5 separate regions of the Homo sapiens genome follow, and regions 2, 3, 4 and 5 are each linked to region 1. Evidence: promoter capture Hi-C in 16 types of primary human blood cells and fetal thymus (Javierre and others, 2016). All regions are on one chromosome and are shown on one strand. The core of a region is centred on a gene start or on the middle of the fragment in contact, and the rest is flanking DNA. Distances in the headings are between cores, read along the strand shown.

Region 1 (5,126 bases), core at 831-3,330:
AGGCCAAGGCAGGAGGGTCACTTGTGCCCAGGAGTTGGAGAGCAGCCTGGGAAACATAGGAAGAACTCATCTCTGAAAAACAAACAAACAAACAAACAAATTAGCTGGGCATGGTGGAGCACACCTGTTGTTTAAGGACTTATCAAAAGTGTAAGTCCAGCCTTCCATAAGCATTTCAAGATAAATTATTACAGCATAAAATGGAGGCCTTTAAATAGGAGAATGAAGTGGTTTGATTTGTAATTTTAAATGATTGCATCAACAGCTGTTTTATGGTATAAAATGCCCAGTTAGGAGGCTGAGGCGGGAGGATCACTGAGTCTGGGAGGTTGAAGCTGCAGTGAGCCAAGACTGCACCATTGCCCTACAGCCTGGGTGACAGAGCAAGACCCTGTCTCAAAAACAAAACAAACAATATAATCACAGGAAAAGGGTTTTGTAAAATTTTGCAACATTTTTAACTTCCTCAAGGTTAGGTTTCAGATTTATTATTTTTGTTTTCCAACATTAATTAGATGTAAAAACTCTTAAAACAAAAATGCCTTCAGCTAGCCTTTACAAATCAGATAAGAGGGAAAGGTTGGGAAGAGCAGCCAAGTTGCTTAGGGGCCGTATCCAAGTAGCAGAGTGAAAAGGCTGTACTTCTGAAGCTTCCTGCAATGGAGAGAAGTGTTAGCAGGGGTTGTGAGAAGAGCTCTGGTCGGAATGAAAAGCAGTGGTATACCATCAGCTGCTCGCTCACTTGCTCTCTCATGCACGAATCCAGCGGAGCCTGACGGCACTTTTCAGAGGGCATTTTCTCCAATGAGGCAAAAAGTCAAAGCCTGAGGATCTTGAAATGCTTATGTTAGGCTGGATCTACACTTTTGACCAGTCCTTAAACAACAGGGCTCCTTTGTGTGGTGTCTGATGCCAATCATGTGACCTAGCTAAAGGCAGCAATGTAACCATCCCACAATTCATTTATTTATTCAACAAATATTTATTGAGTTCTCTATTTACCAGGCAGTCAGCTTCCAGGATCTAGGATGGGATACTGTGGTGAGCAAGACAGACAAGGTCCCTGCCCTTAAGGGACTTAAAGACAAAACAAAACAAAAAATAAAACAAGTAAATAAATGAGATCACTTCCATTAATAACAGTGCCATGAAGGGTCATGCGCCATGAAAGGCAGGTGGTGAGGCTGAGGATCTTGGGCCACAATGAGCCGAGGAGCTGAGGTGACTGGGGGCGCCAGGGTCTGGGGGTGCGGGCAGGCAACAGACCACAGGGGACTTACAGGCCATTATAAGGAGTTTTTATGTCATAAATTATTATGACATAAATTGGAGGGCTTTAAATAGGGGAGTGAAGTGGTCTGATTTGTAATTTTAAATGATCGCGTCAGCAGTTGTTTTATGGTATAAAATGCCCAGCTTTAAGATGACCATGCATTCTACAAATTCACCGTGACATCACTGCCAAAACTCTTAACCTGTCTTATCTAGTTTTCCTGACAGATAAATAGGTCGGAATAAAGCTCCATGACATAACTAGTGGGAGCCAAAGATTTGAATCACGTCTTGGTTTCAAATCTTGCTACCCACAAATGAGTTGTGAGCTCTTGTCAGGTTATTTACTGTATTTGTGCCTCAACTATCTCAGCTGTGAAATGGGGATAATGAAAGTTCCTACATCATTTATTTGTGGAAAAAAAAATGACATGTAAAGCACGACGAGAGCGCCTGGCACAATGTAGTAAGCTTTCACAAACACTCACTTTCATTCCTTCTTGCAGGGGATTACTGAGAGGATCCACAAGATAATGCACGTGAAAGGGCTTGCGAAATTGTAAGGACTATCTTAATGGTAGAGTCCTCTTTATGTTTTCTTTTAAACGGTCCAGAGGACGCTGGGCTGTTCGAGGAGAGGCGCGAGGCCAAGCGCAGCCTCAATGCGGTCATTGTCGTGGGGCCGCCCCTCCCCCGCCCGGGGCGCTTCTCCATGGCAACGTGGGCTTTACCTCTCCCCGCCTCCTCAGGCCCGCAGACCGGAAGCAGCCCGCGCCGGGGGCTTCTGGGAAAAGGCTTGTGAACGGCGTTTCTGCGTCTGCCGTGGACAGCGAAGCTGCTGCGGTTCCTGAGCCGGAGGTTTGCGCCGGTGTGCGGGGAACGTTATGAGAGGGAGGGGGGACACCGGGCTAGGGTCTGCGGACCTCTTAGCAGGAGCCGGCGGGGAAGCCTGTCCGGGACCTTCCTCAGCTTCCCGGGAGGCGCGGGGAACAGGCCGCGGTCTCCGCGCCTAGCAGTTGTGGGGCGGGGAGGGGTAGGCGGCAGGCCTGCTTGGGTCTTCGGCATTTGCAGAGAGCTCTCTAACCCCCTGTGTCCTCCGAGACCCTCACCTTCCCCCTCCCCCACCGGCCGGTTTTGTTCTATTTCGAGGCCCTGGCGTCTCGCGGAGGGTTCTGGGAGTCGTGATGGGAGGGGGTGGTAGTGGGACGAGACTTGCGCGGGGCTTCTGGGATTTGTAGTCTCACCGGCCGCAGGCGGAAGTGCCGTGGTTCCGACGCTGTTGTCACAGGGTGGCCTTTGGTCATCTGAAATCCGCGGTCCTGAGTGCTGGGAAGAGGGGCTAGAGGACGTCGGGCCGGGGCCGGGGCCGGGGCCGGGATACACAGCAGGTCTATGCAGCAGTAAGGTGGGCGATCCACCTGGGACGAGGTACCCTGCCCAAACATTGTCGGGACCGTGGGCCTTCCCTCCATTTCCCACAAGCGGTATGCTCTACAGCATAAAAGGAAGAGAAAATTATGTAGAAATACTTGCACCGTTGATAAGCAGGGTCTTGGAATAGGAACGAATGAATGTTGGCTAGACCTTATGTATAAGGCCACCACACTCCAGGGTATTTAATTAAACCAGTATGTATTACTTGTCTGATAAGGCCTTTTCTGATTCTAGTCTTCATCTTGCTTGGGTTACAATAAGTTTTTTTAAGTTGTTATTGTTCAGATTTTGGGCCCTGAATAAATAAATAGGCTGAATGGCTCATTGCTAGTATGTGTCGTAAACAACAGCACGGGCATGATCGTGCAAATAATAAAGGTCCAGAAGCAGTATACAGTTTCACTGAAGGTAGAAGCTGGGGAAACTGTGAGTCCTCCAGTGTAAGGACAAGACACTGGACCACTGCAGGAAGTCAAGGTGCTTATGCGAGTGCCTTTTCTTAATAGAAGTTTCTGTGATTAATGCCTATCATTATAAATATAAATGTACGTATGGTGTGGTGGAAGACTGAATATTTACGTATTATGTGCAAGATAATTTTTCAAAATTATGTGATGTTTTTCACATATGATCTTTTCAATATTATGTGATCTGCTACTCAGCAAGTGAACATTTTTTCACATATAAGTCCAAGGAGTTCTTAAACACCTTAAAAATATTTTTTAAATGGTAAAGAAAATTTTTTTAAGCACATAATAATAAAGCGAACCTTCCTTTTGAGTTGACTTGTGTGTGTCAGGAAACACCAATCCTGAATTGGAAATAATGCGTTCCAGGGTCAGGCACATTTAGAAAGCACTGAAGTAGTCTGGTTCTTACTTGGATTCTTTTGATTATTGACATAGGGTTTGTCGTCTTAGTAGGTCATGATTGGCAAACTTTTTCTGTAAGCGGCCATATAGTAAATAAGGTCATGCATAACTCAACGATAGTGCTATGGTCTGAGAAATATGTTAGGCTATTTCATCCTTGTGTGAACGTCATAGAATGTACTTGCACAAACCTAAATGGCGTAGCCTACTACACACTTAGGCTATCTGGTATAGCCTATTGCGCCTAGGCTACAAACCGGTACGGCATGTTGCTGTACTGAATACTGTAGAGAATTGTAACACAATGCTAACTATTTGTGTATCAAAACATAGAAAAGATAAGAGTAAAATATGATATAAAATGTTTGAAAAAAAAAAAAGATATGCCTGTACAGGGCACTTACCATGAATGGACCTCGCTGGATTGGAAGTTGCTCTAAGAAGTCAGTGAGTGAGTGGTGAATTTGGAGGCCTGGGACATTATTGTACATTCCTATAGACCATATAAACACTGAACACTTAGGCTACACTAAATTTATTAAGAAAACATTTTTCTTCAATAATTAACCTTAGCTTACTGGAACTTTTTCACTTACAAACTTTTACATTTTTTTTTAACTTTTTTACTCTTTTGTGATAACACTTCACTTAAAATACAAACACATTGTACAGCTGTACAAATATATTTATATCCTTATTCTGTAAGCTTTTTGCTTTTTTTTTTTTATAGACAGAGTCTCGCTCTGTCGCCAGGCTAGAGTGCAGTGGCGCGATCTTGGCTCACTGCAGCCTCCACCTCGCGGGTTCAAGAGATTCTCCTGCCTCAATCTCCCCAGTAGCTGGGACTACAGGCGCAATCCACCACGCCCAGCTAATTTTTGTATTTTTAGTAGAGACAGGGTTTCACCATGTTGGCCAGGATGGTCTTGATCTCTTGACCTCGTGATCTGCCTGCCTCAGCCTCCCAAAGTGCTGGGATTACAGGCCTGAGCCACCGTGCCCGGCACAGCTTTTTGCTATTTTTAAATTCATTTTTTAGAGACAGGGTCATACTCTGTTGCCCAGGCTGGAATGCAGTGGTGTGATCATAGCTCAGTGGAGCCTTGAACTCCTGGTCTTTAGTGATCCTCCTGCCTCAGCCTCCTATAGTGCTGGGATTACAGGTGTGAACCATTGCACCTGGCCAATTTTTTTTTTCTTTTGGAACTGTTTTTGTTAAAAGCTAAGATAAACACATTAGCTTAGGCTTACACAGGGTCTGGATTATCAGTATCATTGCCTTCTACCTCCATATCTTGTCCCACTGGAAGGTTTTCAGGAGCAGTAACATACATGGAGCTGTCATCTCCATAATAACAGTGCCTTCTGTAATACCTCCTGAAGGACCTGCCTGAGGCCATTTTGCAGTTAACTTTTTTATTTAGTAAGTAGAAGGAGCACACTCTAAAATAATATAGTATAAAAAGTATAGTAAATACATAAACCAGTAACATAGTCGTTTATTATTGTTATCAAGTTTTATGTACCATACATAACTGTATGTGTTAA
Region 2 (5,224 bases), core at 311-2,810, 280 kb after region 1:
GAAACTTTCAAATACATGCAAAAGGAGAGAGAAGAGAATAACAAACCAGTTAGGTTTACCCCTTGGATTCAAGAATTATCAATACTTGACCATCTTGTTTGATTTATACTCCTATCAACTCCCCTTGTGTCAATCCCATCCTAGCCTACCAAGCCAGATTATTTTGGAGTAAGTGCCAATAATCACATAATTTCACCTATAAGTGTTTCAGTGTGTCTCTGAAAAATAATTTTTAAAAAAAACAGAATATTATCACACCTAAAAATGAAAATAATTACTTATATCAAATATGCATTTCAATATATTATAATACAAATTTAACTTCAGATTGCTTGAATCTGGATTCATATAAGGTTCATACATTATGATTCTTTGATACATTCTTTAAATTTCTTTATAAAGTTTCTTCTCTATTTCTAATCTTTCCTTGCAATTAAAAAAAAAGTTGTTGTTGAAGGAACTAGGTTGTCTGATAGTTTCCACATTCTGGATTTTTCTCATTGTATCACACTGCTGTGGTTTAACATGTTCCGCTGTCCTCTGCATCCCTACAGACTGATAATTCCATCTAGAGCCTTGATCTTATTCAAGTTCTAATGGGACGGGGATTTGATGCCATCTAGCACAACTCTGGGCTTTGACACCTAATCCTCCATCAATACACTGCCTGGTAATGCAAAAGCTTTCCATTACTGCCTGAAGAAGAAACCAATAGAACAGCCCATCAGCTGCCAAAGGTTATGCCAGTATATGACAATTGCATCAAACAGACTATTTCACGCCGTGTTTGAACTTCCATCAGAAGGCAGATAACTATTACCTCTGACTGCCTGCTTCCATGATATTGTTAGCTCTGATATTTGCCTAGATCCAATAATTCACTAAAACTTCAAATATTCTATTATTCATTCTTGATTTATTAGCTGGAATAATTCTACAAAGAGAAGTTTCCCCCTGAGGTACCCTGAGATACAGGTCATCGAGGAAAGGCAGGAGAGGTGCCTAACTCTTTTTCTCTATTTGCCAGTTTTCAAAGTGATGAGTAGTTCCCTAATATTCTCCAAACATGACCAATGAAGTTTTTGTTCTTATATTTTGAAGTATAATTATGAATCCATGGACTTAAACATATTTGATATGTTTCAATCCATTGAAATTATACCTTTATTGATAAAAGCTTGCAAGAGCTTATTCAAGCTAGCCTCTAAGTTCTTTTGACACAGTCTTAGTGGTCTTTGATAACCTTCTTCTTTTCCAATATGACGAGATGTTCCAAGGCCAACTTGTATATTTCTTGCCTCAGACCTAAAACCAGTAATTTCTCCAAGCGCTCCTGATTCCTTTTAGTGAAAAATGGTATTTACAGATATAGAAGTAATATTTTTAAACATGACTAGATATAATAGCAAAATCTATAGTATATAGGTTTTAGACAAAAATCTACATTTTATGAAATAGTTGTGTTTGGAGTTCCTATTTATGCTCATGAAAGCAATAAAAATCTGTTTTCTACTTTAAAGTGCTAAATGAAGGTTTCATTTAGAAATAAATGTAAAAATAAATATCTATCACTCCATTCCCAGAAGCACCCTTATCTCTAAATTGTCTTCTCGTAAGGATCTGAAAAATCTCACAGCATAGGAATCTCAGATAGTGTGACCATAATTACTGCTTTGTACACCATTATTGAAGGTTTTTTACTTTTTGGTTAATAACTTCCACTGTTTTCTTTAGTCTATCATTTATTAAACGAAACCATTTGCTTTTTAAATGTAGTCAATTTTTAAAATCATCTATGTAAATTATGTATAATCTTAGTAAGGGTAAATAATTCAAAATTTAAAATATTTTGGACTGATGAAATGATCATATACTGGCATAACTTTTGGCAGCTGATGGGCTTTTCTAGCGGTTTCTTCTTCAGGCAGTAATGGAAAGCTTCTGCATTACCGGGCAATGTACTGATGGAGGATGTGGTGTCGAGGCCCAGGGTTATGCTAGATGGCACCAAACCAAATTGAGATGAAATTTTTAATCAAGATGATTTAAAAAAAATCTAAATGCAAAGCAGAAAAGACACAAACAGATCTGTGTTTTAGAAAAATAACCCATACACAAGTGAGTAAAAACGTTCTGTGGTTACATAAGAGAAATTAATATACAACAGAAGTACAGGTAGAAGAGTAATGACAGCTTTTTAAAAATCCATATAAACAAGGAAGCAGGTCATTTGCTGCAGTTTGTCAATAAATCACACTTTCCTCCAGGTCTTTGCTGATAACATTCACTTAAGGACAACAATTGTCCTTTCATAATGTAAACAGACATTCAGCTCACAAAGGTAAGTCAAGGCACTATCTGCCTTCAAGCAGTTCATTAAGATGATCAGGTAAACAATGAAAACAGCACCAGATCTGGGCTTTAGAAAAATTCTGGGTACTTAGTTACCAGGCATACCACTCAAATCTCCACCATTGCTAGCCAACACAGCTGTAGTCCTCACAAGCCCTGTGGCAGGGGCTACCATGTGTTAAGGGACCTGTGGGATAACTAGTTTAGAAGACAGATTAAGAATAAGTGAACCAATGAAGGCAAGAAATTTTTCACCATTTCCTAAAATAAAATAACAACACATTAAATGAGTAGACTTCAATACCTACTTCAAATTAATAACAATGAAATCAATATAGTTAATTTCTATTTAACACCCCTGCTGATGGGAATATTCTTATAATCGATCTTCCTCTTTCCAAATTTCAGCAAGGTACTTCTAAGCGCACTTCACTCTGTGGCTGTCTTTGCTCCCAATGTTTGCCCCGAACCCAAACAAGCCAGCTTTTCCGATTTTAGGCCTGAGAGTTCTGAGTCTGGACTCACTTTCCCTGGAAGGGGAACTGTCCTGAACCTCCCGCAAGTGAAGTGTCAGCCAAAGTGGAAAAAGGATTCTATTCCTGCACTGCCATCCACCCTTTTGTTTTCCCAATTCTTTCAGCTCCTGCTTTTTCTACAGGTATGCTTTCCATATAGTTAAACTTAAATGATACAAGTGGCTACAACATTCACAGAACATTTATATATTTTTTCCAAATGTTAAACTCAGGTGAGAGAGTATTAAATTGTCCTAGTCCCTAGGTGGATACATTCTAAAATCCTAAGATTTCATTATGATTTCTGGGGTCTCAATCTATATGACAATATAAAGGTAAAAGTACTTGTCCCTACCTAGTCTGCAGAAATGCTGTGTGGATAACACAAGGAAATTTTATATCTTTTTAGAGATAAAGTGGTTCTATTGACCCTTGGAAGAATCCTGGGAGGAAAGCAGGGCAGGAATCATACTCTTCCCTTACAAAAGTGGACACAAACTTCAATTCACGACTGCTAGTCCTTAGGGATATTACCAATTACATCAACATCCTATGGAAGGTAGGAATTATACAATTCAAAAAGCTAATTTTTAATTCATGGAGTACTTCCCAAAGACTCAGTCAAGAAAGATAAATGGTTATGAAAGGTAAGGTCATACTAACTATTACAGAACAAGGAGCAACTCACTGTGCGGGGTTTATTCTCATGTTTGGATCTTCAGCATGTCTTTTACATGGAAACAACAGTTTATTCTTAGGTGACTTGCCACATGGCCTCTGGGACATGAGCATCTCTCTGTCCCATCCTTGCAAAGGAGAAAGTCAAAGCGCTGTCTCCCACTTTGTGGCTTTCAATTGGAATCTCAACCAGATCACTGTGTTGTTTAAGACCTGGTCAGTGCAGGCCAGGCGCGGTGGCTCATGCCTGTAATCCCAGCACTTTGGGAGGCCGAGGCGGGTGGATCACCTGAGGTCCGGAGTTCGAGACCAGCCTGGCCAACATGGCGAAATCCTGTCTCTACTAAAAATACAAAAATTAGCCAGGTTTGGTGGCATGCGCCTGTAGTCCCAGCTACTAGGGAGGCTGAGGCAGGAGAATCGCTTGAACCCGGTAGGCAGAGGTTGCAGTGAGTTGAGATTGGGCCACTGCACTCCAGCCTGGGTGACAGTGAAACTCCGTCTCAAAAAAAAATAAAAAAGATAAATAAATAAAAATAAAGATCTGGTCAGTGCAACAGCACAACAAGCAGGAGATAAGGGAGGAACACTTTCCTAGCACTGCAGTCCCTGGGTCACCACACTTTAATATTGTATTTAAATTTTATTTTAAAACAAATTTGCATTTATTGCCCCTACTTGAAAATAAACTAATAATCACAATATAGTTACACACTTTTTACATGAATATTAGAATAGCTTTCTTGGAAGGTGGGAATACACTTTTTGTTTTTTTTTTTTTGAGACAGAGTCCTACTCTGTCGCCCAGGCTGGAGTGCAGCAGCGCGATCTTGGCTCACTGCAACGTCTACCTCCCTGGTTCAAGCAATTCCCCTGCTTCAGCCTCCCAAATAGCTGGGATTGCAGGCACATGCCACCACGCCCAGCTAATTTTTTTGGTATTTTTAGTACAGACAGGGTTTCACCATGTTGGCCAGACTGGTCTGGAACTCCTGACCTCAGGCCATCTGCCCACCTTGGCCTCCCAAAGTGCTGGGATTACAGGCGTGAGCCACCACACCCAGCTGGTTTTTTGTTTTGTTTTGCAAACAGAAGAGAGAAAAACACACAGAAAAAACAAAAATCCCTTCAGACCTCTAGCAGGCAAAGTCACGATTCTAGCTTGTCTGTGGATAGTGACCACTGATACACATGACTTTAGAAAAAGGAAAGCCTCCAGCTGAGGGCCAATGTGTAGATTTTGCTCAGTTTCATCCTTTATTCAGTATTTGGCGGTGGTGTTGGGTGGAGAGGTACAGCAAGGTTATGCTTTGCAGTAGTGATTGAATCAGACACATTAGACACTGTATTTCTGCTTACTACAATAAATGGAGTTTTATGTGAGTCAATGAGACCTGAGTTAGCCTACTGAGCAAAATATGAATTCTACCACCTTTACCAGTTCTGCACCTAAAGCTTAACTACAAAATACTCAACAATTTTGTTCAAGAACAAATTTGGCAAGGTTTGTGAATTATTCCAGAGAAGTGGCTCTTCAAAATTAAGCAAATATATAATATGTGCTAGCTAGCATTATGAGTGTTAACTGAAATTATTTCCTATGTAATTCATTTTGTCTCTCTGCCCTGCCCCACCCCTTGCAAACACACTATCAGCCATACTTCAGGGGAGGGGGCTGC
Region 3 (4,907 bases), core at 2,198-4,697, 380 kb after region 1:
AAAATTGGAATTTATTTTAGTGTAGGAATGTCTCTTTCTCCACTAGAATATGGGGCCCAAGATGACAAGAATTTTTGTCTTTTAGTTTACTGGTCTGTCTCCAGGGCGTAGAACTGTGTCTGAGATATGACAGATGATAATTAAATACTTTTGAATGAACAAATGAATACATAAATAAATAAAAGAATAGATTCATAAATATATCCTGATTTGAATTTTTTTCCTGTTGTTTTAATCCAAATCATCTTTACCACGTTGTATTATTTCTCCGTAATTTAGTGACTCTGTTTTTTAGAAACACTATGTAACATAAATTTATTGTAAGATAGTAACTTTCACACATTCAAGTTTCAGTCATTCAGCATGTAGGAGAAAATGTCCTTCTAAGCTTCTTTTAGCTAACAGACATCCTGAAGACAATAAACATCTTATATGAGTCTCCAAACAAGAGGTAGGAAAGTTAAGATTAGTCTGAAAAGTAAAATGCATCATTCGTAAGAAAGAGTTTTCTTTAGAATATGGAAAATAAGATTTAAAAGGAAGGCATAAAATGCAGTACATAACAATAATAGAACAAGAGACATTAAAATGAATTTCTTAAAGGCAATGAATATCTGTACCGGTGAAGTGCTAATCATACGCTACATTTCAAGGCGTTGCTAAGATAGCATTTAACCACATCCACAAATTAATTCTTGCCATTAGAGTATTAACATTTCACAAAATGTTTTTCTCCCGTCTAAATTCTGGGAAGAGCAACTGGGAAAAAAGCCACTTAATTGTCTCAGAGAAATCTAGCTGCTGTGAGCTGTATGTTGGCTCTGGGGATATGGATCAGGATTTCTGTAAATGAGGATAATGGATAGAGAACAATATCTGCAGTGATGGGAGAGTTGGGCCCTGAAACTCCCAAATCAACTGTGCTTTGGAGGAACACTCACATGCTACCATGTGTTTCCTTTGTTCTCCAAGAACATCCATTCTGTTCATCACTCACAAGCACACATTTAGTTTTGTCTCATAACTGGGAGTATGAGTAAATATAGAATACAAAATATGTTCTTACTGAGATACCAAACAGGTATATTCATAACTCCTCCTTTCCTTTTATTTTCTTTGTTGATTTTCTTTCTTACAAGAATCTTACAAGATTAAACAAATTTTAGACAAGTCACAAACATTACTATGTTAGTTTAATACAAATGCATGTTTATAATAGCAATGACAACATAGGAACAGGGATCAGGAGTCCATGTCACTGCCACAGAAACCTTTATGATGGTTGCAGATCTTTGTGATTATCTCCAGAACAGTGATATGTTTTGATGCCAGGTCAGACTCTGGCTAAAGGCCAAGTTAGCAACATGCTCTTTTATTCATAATGAGCTCTAGCTTGCATGAAGTGGAACCAAGTGCGACACTTTTGATCCTGGCTTCTAGAAACCTCAGATTCCAGAAACAGTGTCTGACTGGCTTTTTCAAATCAGGAGAGAGCACTGTGTAGTTAAAGAAAAAGAAATCATCAAAAAGCCCAGAAACAGTCAACTAGTTAAACAGATTGTAGTTCAGTTATGTGATGGATTATTTGGTAGCTGCTGAAAAAAATCAGCAGTTAAATATATTTAGGTATTTACGTTAAAGATACTTAGGGGCATGGAAAAATGATCACTTTAATATATTACGGGACAAAAACAAGATTCCAAGGTTTTGAATCTGATATATGCAGTGTGATGTCATTTGAGTAAAGTAAGTTCCCATATGTTTTCATACATGTAAAAGTAAGTAAATAGATAAAGTTGAATAAAACATTTTAAAATGGTGATATTCCTGATTATAGGGGATTTCTATTTTTTTCTTTTTATACTTTTCCCTTTTTTTTTTTTTTTTTACGGAAGCTTACTGTGTCTCCCAGGCTGGAGTGCAGTGTCACAATCTCACGATCTCGGCTTACCGCAACCCCCACCTCCTGGGTTCAAGCGATTCTCCTGCCTCAGCCTCCCGAGTAGCTGGGACTACAGGCACGCACCATCACGCCCAGATAATTTTTGTATTTTTGTAGAGACAGGGTTTTGCCATGTTGGCCAGGCTGGTCTCGAACTCCTGACCTCAGGTGATCCACCTGCCTTGGCCTCCCAAAGTTTTAGTAGACATTTTTATTGGCTTTTGTGTGTCAAAAATAAATCAGTCTCTCTCTTTGTATATGTAGTTGTGTGTATGTGTGTGTGTGTGTGTGTTTGGCCTGTGGTGCTGACGCCAAACAACTGGGCACCACTGCCTAGCCAAGTTGACTAGTAAAATTAACCATCACACTTTTCAAGCATTCATTTTTACATTCTTTTTTTTTAGTAATAAGAAAATTTTTCAGTTTTCCCTGTTCGGTCCCTATACATTTCATGTACATTTTCACTTTCCTAAAAACGGTTACAATTCAGGTGAACTGAGATGACTTAGATGACCTTAGCAGATGAATATTACAATTTTTACTTAGAGGCCGGGTGCAGTGGCTCACGCCTGTAATCCCAACACTTTGGGAGGCCGAGGCGGGTGAATCGCCTGAGGTCAGGAGTTTGAGACCAGCCTGGCCAACATGGTGAAACTCCATCTCTGCTAAAAATACAAAAATTAGCCGGGAGTGGTGGCAGGTTCCTGTAATCCCAGCTACTCAGGAGGCTGAGGCAGGAGAATCACTTGAATCGGGGAGGCAGAGGTTGCAGTGAGCCAAGATTGCACCATTGCACTCCAGCCTAGGGACAAGAGTGTGACTTCATCTCAAAAAAAAAAAAAAAAAAAGATTTTTTACTTAGAATGCTAGGATAGAATTTCTGTCTCCATTGTAGTGTAGGGGGTGCAGATGGGAAACCTGGAACAGATACCACGAAAGAAGCTTGTCTCAAGAAGGCTGACACAATGGGAGACATAGCAGGGAGATGGAAAGAAACTGCTGTTGTGATAGCCATTAGTTCCTGAATTAAATCAACTCTACCCTCTGTTCTTCCTCTGGATTTTCAGTTACACACATTTTTCTTACATAATCAAGCTTTTCTGTTACCTGCAACCATATTTCAGCTAATACTCAGTATTTTTCAGGTTTTTAACAAATATACATTACTTTTATGCTAACAAAATAATTATTATATTCATTGATTCTAAGACAAACTTTTTTTTACCTTTTAAAATCCTTGAAATTGGCATGTATTATACAATCCATGGCATGTCATAATTTAATAGAACTTTCTTTCATAGGATACATTAAAAAGTAATGTTGCGAGGCACAGAAAGATAAATATTACATGTTCTCACTCATATATAGAAGAAAAAAAGTAGATCTCATGAAGATAGAGAATAGATTGGTGGTTACCAGAGGCCAGGAAGAGTAGGGGAGAGGAGGAAATGAAAAGAAGTTGATTGATGGGTACAGTTTGATAGATTAAATAAGACCTACTGTTTGATAGATGAGTAGGGTGACTATACTTTACAATAATCTATTGTATATTTGAAGATAGTTGAAAGAATAATTTGAATGTTTCTAGCATAGAGAAAAGACAAATATTTAAGATGATGGACATCCCAATTACACTGATTTGATCTTTACAAATTATATGAATGTATTATCACATACTCTGAAATTATATACGTCTATTATGTATAATAATAATACGTTGATTGTCATATTCAATGATGCTTTAGACTTGATGAAAAACAATAATGTTTTAGACTTGATCAAAGTATTTTTTAAGAAAGATGGAATGCCAATGCCCAGGACACCTGGAAGGATATGGCATATACTACTGGCACCATATAGCGACCTGGATGACCCCACATTTCTGGATTGGTCCAAGAAGAAATCAGAAGCTTAGAACTTGGCTTTGCTGTACTGCTAAGGCTAACATAAGCTAGGCTGACACAGAACACTTTATTATTGCTATTAAAATGAGAGCAAATGTTTTCCTTTCAAAGACTGTAGATCACTGCTTGAAATGGCCTAGCAGTACATAATTTTTAGTATCTATTTTCTTTTCAGTTTACTATATTGTTTTATATGACTTTTTGTTTCAAATGGCTTCAAAATCAACTTCCTCAGTCATGCCACTTCAAGCTCTCACATACATGAGCATTAAATAGTAAGATCATATTATGCACATGTGCATATGGTGTTAAAACACTTTTCAATCTATTATATAACTAGATTCTGTAACATTTTTGTGAGTTAGGCACGGTATTATGATCCCTTTAGTATTCAAGAGACTTTCTGTCACAGAGTAGTTGGTGTAGAGACAGGACTTCCAATGGACTGGAAAGAAAGGGCTGATGAATGAAGTTTTATTGCGTGAAGTTATGACCTGTGTCATTAGCAAAGATAGAACACAGTTTTAAAGTTTTTGAACCCTGGTTCAAGGTTATGGTCATCAATTCATGACTGTCTTTCTGTTCACGTACATATTCTGCCATTAAAATATCACTGGAGAACCGAGGCCATTGTGATTCACTAATTTTTAAAAGATCCTATTTATTTTGTGATAACTCATGTTATACCGTAAACACTCAACAATAAACTATTTCAGGAACTAAAATCTTCAATGCTATTATAATTTATTGGATTAATTTCAATTTTAAAATGGTTTGGAATGTGTATCTTTGACCAGAATTGGCTAACTATGTCTATGATAGTCTTTTATATCATAATAAAAATTGTATGAACAGTAACAGTGTACAAAAAATTACTTCTGCAATTCTATGAGCTATGAGTAATGTTAGTGCTGTGACAGAATCTATCAGTATCTGTGATAAAATTTATCAGTGGCAAATAAAATAAATCATATCCTCTGTTCCGTGATTAACATAGAATTTATGTTAGCACAGAATTCACTTTGAAACACGTGATCTAAATTTAATATGTTAATTTAAGC
Region 4 (4,934 bases), core at 943-3,442, 260 kb after region 1:
GTGGCCTTTGTGTCTGGTTTCTTTCACTCAGCAAACTCTTCTCAAGGTTTATCCATGTTGTTCCATGTATCAGAACTTCATTTTTTTTCTTTACAGCAAATAATATTCCATTTTATGAATTACCACATTTTACTGATCCATTCATTAATGAACATCTAGATTGCTTTTATGTTTGGACTATTTTGAGTAATGATGCTACAAACAGTTGTGTACAAGTTTTTTCATGGACATGTTTTCAATTCTCTTGGCAGTATACCTAGGATTGGAATTGCTGGGTCATGTGGTAACTCTGTTTAACAATTTGAAAAACTATCACACTGTTTTCCAAAGCAGGTGTACTATTTTATATTTCTACCAGCAACAGATGAGGGCTCCACATCTTCATCACCACTTGTCTGTCGTTTTGATTCTAACCATCCTAATGGATGTGAAGTGGTATGTCACTGTGGTTTTGCTTTGATTTCCCTATGACTAATGACTTAGAGCATCTTTTCCTTGTGCTTTTTAGGCCATTTGTATGTCTTCTTTGGAGGAATGTCTATGCACATTCTTTGCTTGTTTCTTAAATGGGTTGCTTTTTTATTGTTGAATTGTAAGAATCCTTTCTATATTCTAGATATAATTTCCTTATCAGATATATGATTTGTAAATATTTTCTCCCATTCTGTGGACTGTTTTTTCACTTTCTTGATGGTATCATTTGAAGCAAAAATGTTTTATATTTCAATAAAATCCAATTTAGCTATTCATTCTTTTGTCACTTGTGCTTTTGTTGTTATAACCAAAAACCACTGCATAATCCAAGGTCATGACGATTTATACCTCACGTTCTTTGAGAAACTGCATAGTTCCTATCAAAGTTCAACTCTCTACTTGTGCTCTGGGTCACGTCTCCTCTTACTCACTGAGTCATTCCTGCTGCTATCCTCATTCTCTCCTGCAATGCAAAATTCTTCCTGCATATGTTATTCCTAAATCCTGCAAATATGCTCCAGTATCATTCAACTTTGACAAAATAAAACCAAAGTTTCTTGATCCCACATCATCCTTGAGCTATGTACTATCTCCTCCTCTTCACAGTAAAACTTCAAATGGTCTCTGTTTTCATTGTTTCATCTGACATCCAATTCAATTTAATACAAATTCAATTGTCTTCCAACCTCACCATGTTCTGGTCAAGGTCATCAAAAGCTTCTCTGCTATCAAATCAAACAGTTGTTTTTCTTTCTGCATCCTACTCAACCTCTTAATAGTATTTGGCCTTATTGACCACCTCTTTTGCTCTTGAAATTCTATATTTTCTTCTTTAATCAGATAAAAATAGATGTCAACAAACTGAAATATTCAGGAATCATTGCCAGTGTCCTGGAAGTCTTACCCAGCCACAAATCAGAATGTTCCTCATCAACAGATACACAGACTTTTGTGCCATTTAACTACCCTTGCAATAATGTGAGGTACATTTTGAATAAACACAATTTTATCTCATTATGCCACGGTTACCCTTATTCAGATCACATCCCTCTCCTGCTAAGAATATCACAGTGGTTTTCTATGAAACTATCATAAAATCCAAATTCCTTCCCTGGCTTAAAATACCCTGTTATCAGGCCTCTGTCTATTTCTCCCTTGTCTAACTTCCTTTTAGGAAGCTCCCTTCATGCTGGCTTCCTTGCTGTTCCTAGAACACTTCAGATTTGCTCCTGAATTAGGACCTTTACACAGTTTCATCTAGAACTTCACATGGTGACCTTCTTGACATTCAGATGAAAGCTTATATGTCATCTCCTCAGAGAGGTCCTCCCTTACTATGCCACATGAAGTAGCCTTCTAAGCACTCTTTTTCACCTCATCCTGTTTTATTAACTCTTATGTTGGCATTGTATTAACTCTTATGTTGGTGCTATGGTTTGGATATCCCCTCCAAAATGCATGTTGAAATTTATTTGCCATTGTGATGGTAATTAAGAGGTAGGACCACTAAGAGGTAAGCAGTCCATGAGGGTTCAGCCCTCCTGAAATGGATGAATGCCATTCTTGGGAAAGCAATTCGTTATAAAAGGGCAAATTTGGCTCTTGTTCTCTCCCCTATTGTCTCTTGCATTTCTGCCATGGAATGACGCAGCATGAAGACCTTTGCCAGATGCTGGTTCCCTGATCTTGGACTTCTTAGCCTCCAGAAGAGGAAGACAATAAATAACTGTTCATTATAAATTACCCAGTTTGAAGTATTCTGTTATAGCAGCATAAAACAGACTAAGAGAGTTTGTGGCTTATTTTTTCCCTCGCTGCAATATAAGTTTCAAGAATACTTGTGCCTTATTTGTCTTGGTCCCCTATGTATCTAAACATTTAATACAGTACCTGGCATAAGTGGGTTTCAATAAATATCTGGCTAATGAATGAAGATCTGCATAGCAGTTGAACCACAACAAGGGCTGGTAAACAGTAAAATTCTTATGTTGCCAAACTCCCCAAAGAGATATTATGAGAAGAGTTGCTAAAAATTCTTTTAAGAATTGACGAGGTATAAATAAAATTTTTTAAAGCCACTCAAATATAAGAATGACCCTAGAGACCAAGTCTGCAGAAAAGTAAAAGATAAGCTTTAAAAGCTAAGCATAGGGTAACACATTCAAGTAACACAACCCAAATTGTAGGATGCTGTGCCTACTAAGAGGTTAATTATGATGGGATATACTCTGAGCCCATAAGCTCAAGGTGCTGCTGCAATTGTGAAGGTCTACAAGATTCTGAAATGATCTGGAAATAAGTAGGGGGGAAAAAACTATTCTTTCTACACTGTCTGTACCCCTGCAGCCCTAAGATTGGTTTCAGTTGTTATACATCAAAATTGACATAATGAAGCTGACAAGTGTGAGGACAGGAATAAAAAATGAACAGCTGGGAGGCTGTATGAAGATGGCAGAGCTCAAAAATGAACATTCATACTCAAAGGATTCAGGAGTGTATGATTTAAGTCTATAAAATCATGAAAAGCCTAAGACAATTTCATTTTCACCAGATCCCAGGATTTCAACCATAGAGTAATATCAGAATAAATGGACATTTTTAAAGTGGAAATTTTCAGATAAAAGGAAATATTACTCTAATAACAAATTTATGGAATATATTACGCAAGAAACATAAGACATAAAAACACCCACATTTGGGTAAAATCTGTTAGCGTTTTCATATGTATTTTAAACATTCTGAATCCCATAGTATCCTTAAGAGGTAAGTATTTTTATTATCATTCCCATATTTTACAGGTATGGGAACAAGGCTCAGAAAGTCACCCAGCTAAGAAATTGCAGAGTGGAATTTAAACTCTGATCTGAACTTCAATTTTTTTTTTTTAAGAAAAACATTCCTTTTTTCTATGCTGCTTTTAGGAAATTATATGTAAAAATTGAAAGGTTCAAAGAGTGTTTGGAAATTTTTATAGATTAAGTTTTAGAAATTTTTATAGATTTTTATAGATAATTCTAAAAGGAAATATAAAGGAAAATGCAAGAGAACATATAAATCGTTTGGACTGGTGTTAGAAGTATCAGCTATACCTTTTCTATTTATAGTAGAATCTTGGGCTTGATAGATCATTAATCTGCTCCAATGTCATGACTTTCCATTTCAGTATATATACACTCATAAGAATTTCATTTTACATATATACAATGTGTATATAAAAATAAACATCATCTCTATATATAATCTTATTGATCGCCCATATATATGAGATACATATCTATATATGTATCTCATATATACATGTATATATATATCTTATTGGTGTCAAAAAAAGTCTCACAGCACTTTTCCAGAAATGCAACACAATCTGTGGAAAAACACATCAAGCCAGATTGGGTTCTGCCACAAACAGCTACTCAAATTGCCCATCTGATTTCCTCACAGGCCAAGGAACTATTATACAGAGATGCCTATATCACTGAGGGATTTAGTTACAACTTTTCACTTTCCATAATCTTATTTGGTACTGATGAAAGGTTAGAAGAAAAGCACAACAACCTCAATTAATTGGACACATCCATGTGATCATACTCTTCATGATGTGAATCATTACAGGTAAATGATTTGTAAAAAAGCTTATTATCTCAAGCTAGTATCAACAAAGAATGGGAAGGCAGGAAACAGAAAACTATGTTGGCCTTTGGATCTGAGCCTTCTCATCTTGAATGAACAGTGACATGTCGTCACACTCTGCTAAGCCAACAGTATTCTTATGTGCAAAACGTCAGTGTTGGACTGATCTCTGGTCTCTAAAATTAGATGATTTTCTAATTCTCAGTCTGTCACCAAGTTCTCTTTTAAGGGATACTTGATATTTCTGCTAATTAGGAGACAATGATGCTCATCTTCATATGACCAAGATGTTTGCCAGTGCTCTTGCTTCTAGCCATCACTGGCTTTTGTCATAGTTAATATAAGAGGAGACTTACTAATAACACTGCTGCCTCTGGTGGAATATTCCTGGGGGCACACACACCCTTTCCAGATTCAGTTCTGGTGACCCTATCTTCCATGTACTTCTCTTTGAGATCTTGACATTAACAAACTCAGTAACATAGCCATATTTTCTATCCAGTAGTTGAATATTAGCAATGAAAAATCTCCTTCATATTAGATTGTTCATACGCAATAATCATAAAGTCATCCCAGCTTTATTTTGGCATTCAGCTCATCATTCCTTGAACTGATGTTCCTGCAGAACTGCAACTATTACCTAAGCCCAAACCTCGTGTTGAAGGAAGCATTCCCCTTTGGGAAATCAGGGCTTTACTAAAGAGGAAAGTGAGGCTGCAAAATACAAGGTTACATATTTCCAGCACATCAGCAGAAATCTCTCTACCTACAGAAATACATGCTGTAAGGAGTTTAATGGCAATTGTGAAATAATGCTTTGAAATATTAAC
Region 5 (5,461 bases), core at 2,804-5,303, 270 kb before region 1:
AAAAAACAAAACAAAACATATATTAGCATGTTACAGAAAGACAGTGTTCTGGTTAGTCACAAATTCTACCTTACAGATTTATCGCAGGTACCACACACTGCAAAACAACCATACCCTTCCTTTTTTCCTTAACTAATCAGTAATTTGGCATATCGGTTTTTAAGTTGCTGTGTTTTCTAACTTGGTTTCTCTCTTACTAGTCTCTCCCTAATGTCATTTAACGTCTCTTAGTTTATAGCGTTAGTGATTGTTTTGCATTCTTGCCTGCTGATTTTCCTGTGAAAAGCTATTCTCTGCCTCCCTCCCTCAACTCGGTCTGCCCTGTAGTCTCAGGCTGCTTCTGCATTGCTATCAGTTAAGATCCATTCTAGGGGATGACCTCAAGCGCCTTTTCTTCATATTTGTTTCAGCTCTTTGGAGGGCTGATTATAGGATTTGCTTCCTGCTCTCAGAACAAACAAACAAACAAAAACAGTGCAGTACAATTAAGTTGACATTTTACTTAACAATGTAATAGGAAAGTTAAGTAAATTGTTGGAAAAAAAAAACTCTGAAATAAACCTGCTATTTAATTCACATCAATAACTCAAACATTTCTTTTGTATTATTTTTTAAAATTCTAATTCTCAAAACTATTCTACTAAAACCTCTAATCACTTGGGTTATCTCTCCTTTTCTTTTAAATACACTAAACAGTTACACATGTTTGTCTTTATTACCCATAATGCAACTAAAAGATAAATTTTTTGCAGATGTCATTTCTCCACTTGAGCTTTAGAGAATTTAAGAATTAAGTTCATCCATGAGCAGTCTTTTTCAAACACACATTACAGTCTAGTCTCAAGCTTCCTTCTTGAGACCCTAACCATAAATTCAAGAGGAATAACTAAAATTTTTTAAAGATGTATTTAAACTAAACATACCAAAGAATATATACTTTTTAATGAATACAAGATTATTTTACAGGTTTAGACTACATTTAATGTAAATAATGTTAATTATGAATGAAAATGATGTAAAATTATTTTCCTAATGGTACTGCACATAATGCTATCTCATTGCACAAGAAAAATCAGAGCAGTTAACAGTTTTGCATTTTGCTGTGCTGTTAACTGCAGTAGTGCTCTCTATACATGTTAAGTGCTTGGCTATCAAAAAAAAAAAAAAAGAACAGCAAAGCAGTCTTAAAAGATGAAACCTTTATCTGCTAGAGCAAAGTTTATGGTTTCATTATAAAGAACCCTAATCTGAAGAGTTATCGAAAAGAAAAGAAGAAGAGAAAGGGAGAGAAATAATTTTTAAAATAGGTATTGTTTTTATTTTTTTAAGGAAAGCTTTTTTAAAAAAACTAAATGTGCTATGTTGATCTTGTTTTGAGTTTTGAATCTACAAATCAACTTAAAAAGACACTTTAGGGACCACTGAGGAAATATGATTATGAACTGGGTTACAGATGCTACTAAGCAATCACTGTTAATTAGGAATGTTAACAGCATTGTGGTCATATTCAAAATGTTCTCATTTTAAAGGATCTATACTGAAGAATGTTAGAGGTAAAATGACATGATGTCTTCCATTGCTTTAAAATACTTGGGCTTAAGAGCAGGGGAGTGAGGTTAGATTGAGAGGTGGAACACAAGTGGGAAAATGTGTTTGCTGAATCTGGAGAATGGATACAGGTTTAAGAGGGCTCGTTTCACTGTTCTGTCTACTTTTATATATGTTAGAATTTCTCGAAATATGATGTTAAAACAAAGAAGTAACTTTTAAACGTGTTTCAGATAGCTAAACGCTAAATTAGGATTTAACATCTTACTTTGGATTTAACATCTTACTTTGGCAGGCCAAATACTGCATACACTGGTGTTCTGTGAACAAAAGCAAGGCATATAGTAGACATTTGTTCACTTAACAAATTTGTTAACTGCCCTACTATATGCCAAGCATTTTACCAGACCATATGAGAACAAAGATGAGTTAGACAACATCACTGTCCTTAGGGAGGAAATGGTCAATATAAATACCTGTAATAAATGATTCTTGGTGGTGTGAGAGAAGAGTCTAGAGAACAGTAGCCACAGACAGGAAATGGAGGGGGGAGCTGTCTGAATGCCTGCAATGCGCCGCTTGCATTACATTCACCCGTCACTGCTGCTCAAATGGGGAAGGAACTACTCATAAAGTTTTGTTTGTTTTCATACCACACCTCACTCTGGCATAAATGAGTCAGGATCTATGGTTACAGGGTTCCTCAGTGGCTTAGGCATTAGAGAGAGAATTTTATCCTAATAACAACCCTTTCAAGTGGGTTTTATCTTCATTTTCAGCTGAGGAAGCTGAAGAGTCAGAAGTTTGAGGGGTGGACCATACTAGAGGACTGGAAGGTCTGAGAAGTCACAGAATTTGAAGAGTGGTGCCAATACAAAGGAGGAGAGAGCTCTGAAAAAGGAGTCTGAGACGATGCTAACTGCCACAGAGAAAGATTACGTGACACTGGAAGCTGTTTCTGCCAAGTATTCAGCAAGCTACCATGAATGTGGAGATTAAAACACAACACTAAAACACTAGAAGGTTTTACAACCTGTGCTAAGCAAAAGGAATCAAACATTACTCAAGACTTCAGGTGAGGATATGCAAGCCTTAGTACTTCTCATTAGCCATATGCAATGCAGGTCAGATAAAAAAAACACCCAGTGTCCAAAGCAATAACAGCTATATTTCTTTTAATAGAGATATAAATTAAACAGGAGAATAAAAGCATAACAACAATTACCAAGCACTTACTGTGTGCTGAGCACTTTGATGGGCACTGTATAACAATACTCCCAACAACCCAGTAAGCCAGGTACTATTATGCACACCATCTTACAGATAGGAAAACTGACACTTTAAAAAGTTAGGTAATTTGGCCAGCGTCACATAGACTATACATGTCAAGGCCAGAATTCAAAATTAGTCAGGTCCCAGCAACTATGATGAAACCCACAAACCTGTATCCTTTACCTTGTCTACCTCTGCAATTTACATAAATTAAATCATATTATAATGTATTCTTCTGCTACCTTTTAAATCCAACATTACGTTTTTAAGACTCATCCATATTGATGTAGTTCACTAACTTTGGTGTCATAGAGCAAGGGGTGGCAAACTAGTATTTTTGTAAATAAAATTTTATGGGAATGCAGCCACTCTCATTCATTTATATATGGTTTACAGCTGCTTTTGCACTACAACGTCAAAGTTGTTGGCCTTTACAGAGACTGTACGGCCTGCAAAGGCTAAAATACTTACTATCTGGCCCTTTACAGAAAAGTCTGCCAACCTCTGCCATGGAGTAGTGCAGTGGTATACTTGACAATGTCCAACTTTTACAATTTTGTCAATGTAGCTTTAATTTGTATTTCCCTGAAAACAACTGTTTACTGGCTATTCATTTTTCTCCTAAGAAACAGCTCTTGCTTTCTTCTGCCATTAACTGTTTTCACACTTACGTATGTATGCGTACTGACATATGGGTGTGTGCATTACTGATTCTAAAAATCCTTATCCTTTGTATGCAAAATATATTCTACTTGTGTATTTGTGACTAGTCTTTACACTCTCCTTTCCATGCACACAAAACCCAAGAGATCTTAATTTTAGTACAGCCAAATTAATAAACCTTTTCCTTCAACAATTGTGCTTTTGGCTTCCAAAGCCTGAGGTCTAAAATACTCTCTAATATTTTATTCTGGAGGCTTAAGTTTTGCCTTTCACAATCTAGTCTTTAATCCATCTGAAATTGCTTTTTTTAATACAGTGTTAGTAAAAACCATTTTTTAAAATGTGGCTAAGAATCCCAACCATTTAAAACGTATTCCATTTCCTTGATTTGTAACATTAGCTCTGTCATGTATTAGCTTTCCACGTACTTAGAGTTCTGGTTTTTGCCTTAACTTCCTTCCATTATCTATTTGTCTATGCTTGTCCAAATATTATGCCATCTCAATGATTAAAGTTTTACACTATCTTAAAATCTTGTAAGACAAGTACTTGCTTCAGGAATGTCTTAGCCATTCTTGACCCTTTGTATTTCCAAATAAATTTTAGAATTAACTGGTCAAATTCCACAAAAACAAACAAAACCATACCCTGCTGGGTGTTTTTTTTAATAGCAATAAATTCATATATTAAAGACAGATTAATTGATACGTTTATAGGAAACCTTCTTTCTATGAACATGGTATGTCGTCACATTTATTTAGGTCTTCTTAATGTCCTTCGATATATTTCTATACCTTTCTATTTAAAGATCTTGCCCTCTCTTTTTCTATTTATTCCTAGGTGGCTTTTTATTTTTTTTACTATTGAGAAATATTTTTATTACATTTATTATTGTATGCTGCTAGTTTAGAGTAATAGAACTGACTTTACCATAATGATCTTCTTGTTGATTAATTGGCATTCCTTGCAGATTCTGGATGTTAGTCCTTAAATTTTACTATATCAATCATATATTCGCAACTTAATAAACTCCTGAATTTTCTATGAAGGTACTTATATTCACTCTAAGGAATGACCATTCTGTTCATTCCTCATAGCCCTGTAGCTCTTTGTTGCTTTACTGCACTAACTCATATCTCCAGTGCAATTGTGAAGAGGCAGGGTAACAGTGGGCATCTTTATATCGCTGCTGTTTTTCAAAGGAATACCATTAATGTTTCTCTATCAAATACTATGTTTGCTGTAGGTTTTTCACAGATGCCCTTTGTCAGGTTACAGAATTTCCCTTCTGTTCTTAGTTTGTTATGAGTTTTTACCATAAAAGAGAGATGAATTTTAATAAATTCTTTTTCTGTATATTTTAGGATGATATGGTTTTTTTAACTTTAAACTGCTTGTGTCGATAATTACATTAATAGTCCTTCTAATGCAGAACCAAGCTCGCCTTCCTGGAATAAACCCTTTGTTCAATATCCAGTATTTCCTTTATACACTGCTGAATTCAACTTGCCTAATTATTTTTGATAGTCTTTTGCTCTTTAGCCGTATTTTATACTCTCTAAACATATTAAGCATTTATCTTATATTACATATCTGACAACTACAATATCTGCAATGTTTGAATGCCTGATTACACGGTCTCCTTGCTCTGCTGATTAACTCATGGTTTATATAAAGTGTTTTTGGTTTTTTAAATTGTGAATGCATTTCTAGGAAGAAACTTTACCTGTGTCAATTCTCTGAGGCCTGTGTTCCTGTATTTCTCCAGTGAGGATTTCATTTGATTCTCAGTCCTGAGACTGAGACTACTTTTCACTAAATTCTTGGCTTGGTTGTTTTTTTTTCCCCCACCATTAAGGTAGTATGAACTTCAACCCCAAATCCAGTTAGAGTGGAACTGCAGTTATAATTTTTCGGGGAAGGTTATTTTACCCTTCCAGTGAAAAGCTGAAACAGGCAACCTTGTTCCTATGCTCCC

Evidence for each region. The method cuts DNA at HindIII sites, captures the fragments that hold promoters and counts their contacts. A CHiCAGO score of 5 or more calls a contact.
Region 2: a fragment that was not itself captured here is called in contact with the fragment with the promoter of ZNF24 in region 1 in 1 of 17 cell types (total B cells); the score reaches 6.7 in total B cells.
Region 3: a contact is called between a fragment that was not itself captured here and the fragment with the promoter of ZNF24 in region 1, in 1 of 17 cell types (non-activated CD4 T cells). The highest score is 6.5, in non-activated CD4 T cells.
Region 4: a contact is called between a fragment that was not itself captured here and the fragment with the promoter of ZNF24 in region 1, in 1 of 17 cell types (non-activated CD4 T cells). The highest score is 5.5, in non-activated CD4 T cells.
Region 5: a contact is called between a fragment that was not itself captured here and the fragment with the promoter of ZNF24 in region 1, in 1 of 17 cell types (total B cells). The highest score is 5.6, in total B cells.

Annotation. Positions count from the first base shown.
Region 1 is chr18:35,341,374-35,346,499 of GRCh38, reverse strand. It overlaps ZNF24 (zinc finger protein 24), which reads left to right and starts at 2,080. Exons shown (of 4, transcript NM_006965.4): 1 at 2,080-2,140. LOC124904283 (a long non-coding RNA gene) reads right to left here and starts at 2,446. Exons shown (of 2, transcript XR_007066337.1): 1 at 1,761-2,446; 2 at 1-72. RefSeq lists a silencer at 1,853-2,022 and an enhancer at 2,703-2,762. The HindIII fragment of the contact is 2,541 bases long and covers 1,746-4,286 here.
Region 2 is chr18:35,064,400-35,069,623 of GRCh38, reverse strand. All of the region lies in intron 1 of MAPRE2 (microtubule associated protein RP/EB family member 2), which reads right to left. Among named protein-coding and RNA genes, the nearest start is that of MAPRE2, 26 kb to the right of the region's middle. The HindIII fragment of the contact is 761 bases long and covers 1,180-1,940 here.
Region 3 is chr18:34,961,749-34,966,655 of GRCh38, reverse strand. No RefSeq gene overlaps it. Among named protein-coding and RNA genes, the nearest start is that of MAPRE2, 77 kb to the left of the region's middle. The HindIII fragment of the contact is 815 bases long and covers 3,040-3,854 here.
Region 4 is chr18:35,085,109-35,090,042 of GRCh38, reverse strand. All of the region lies in intron 2 of MAPRE2 (microtubule associated protein RP/EB family member 2), which reads right to left. Among named protein-coding and RNA genes, the nearest start is that of MAPRE2, 46 kb to the right of the region's middle. The HindIII fragment of the contact is 833 bases long and covers 1,776-2,608 here.
Region 5 is chr18:35,613,743-35,619,203 of GRCh38, reverse strand. The region is part of intron 1 of GALNT1 (polypeptide N-acetylgalactosaminyltransferase 1); the gene reads right to left. Among named protein-coding and RNA genes, the nearest start is that of MIR3975, 25 kb to the right of the region's middle. The HindIII fragment of the contact is 5,434 bases long and covers 1,337-5,461 here.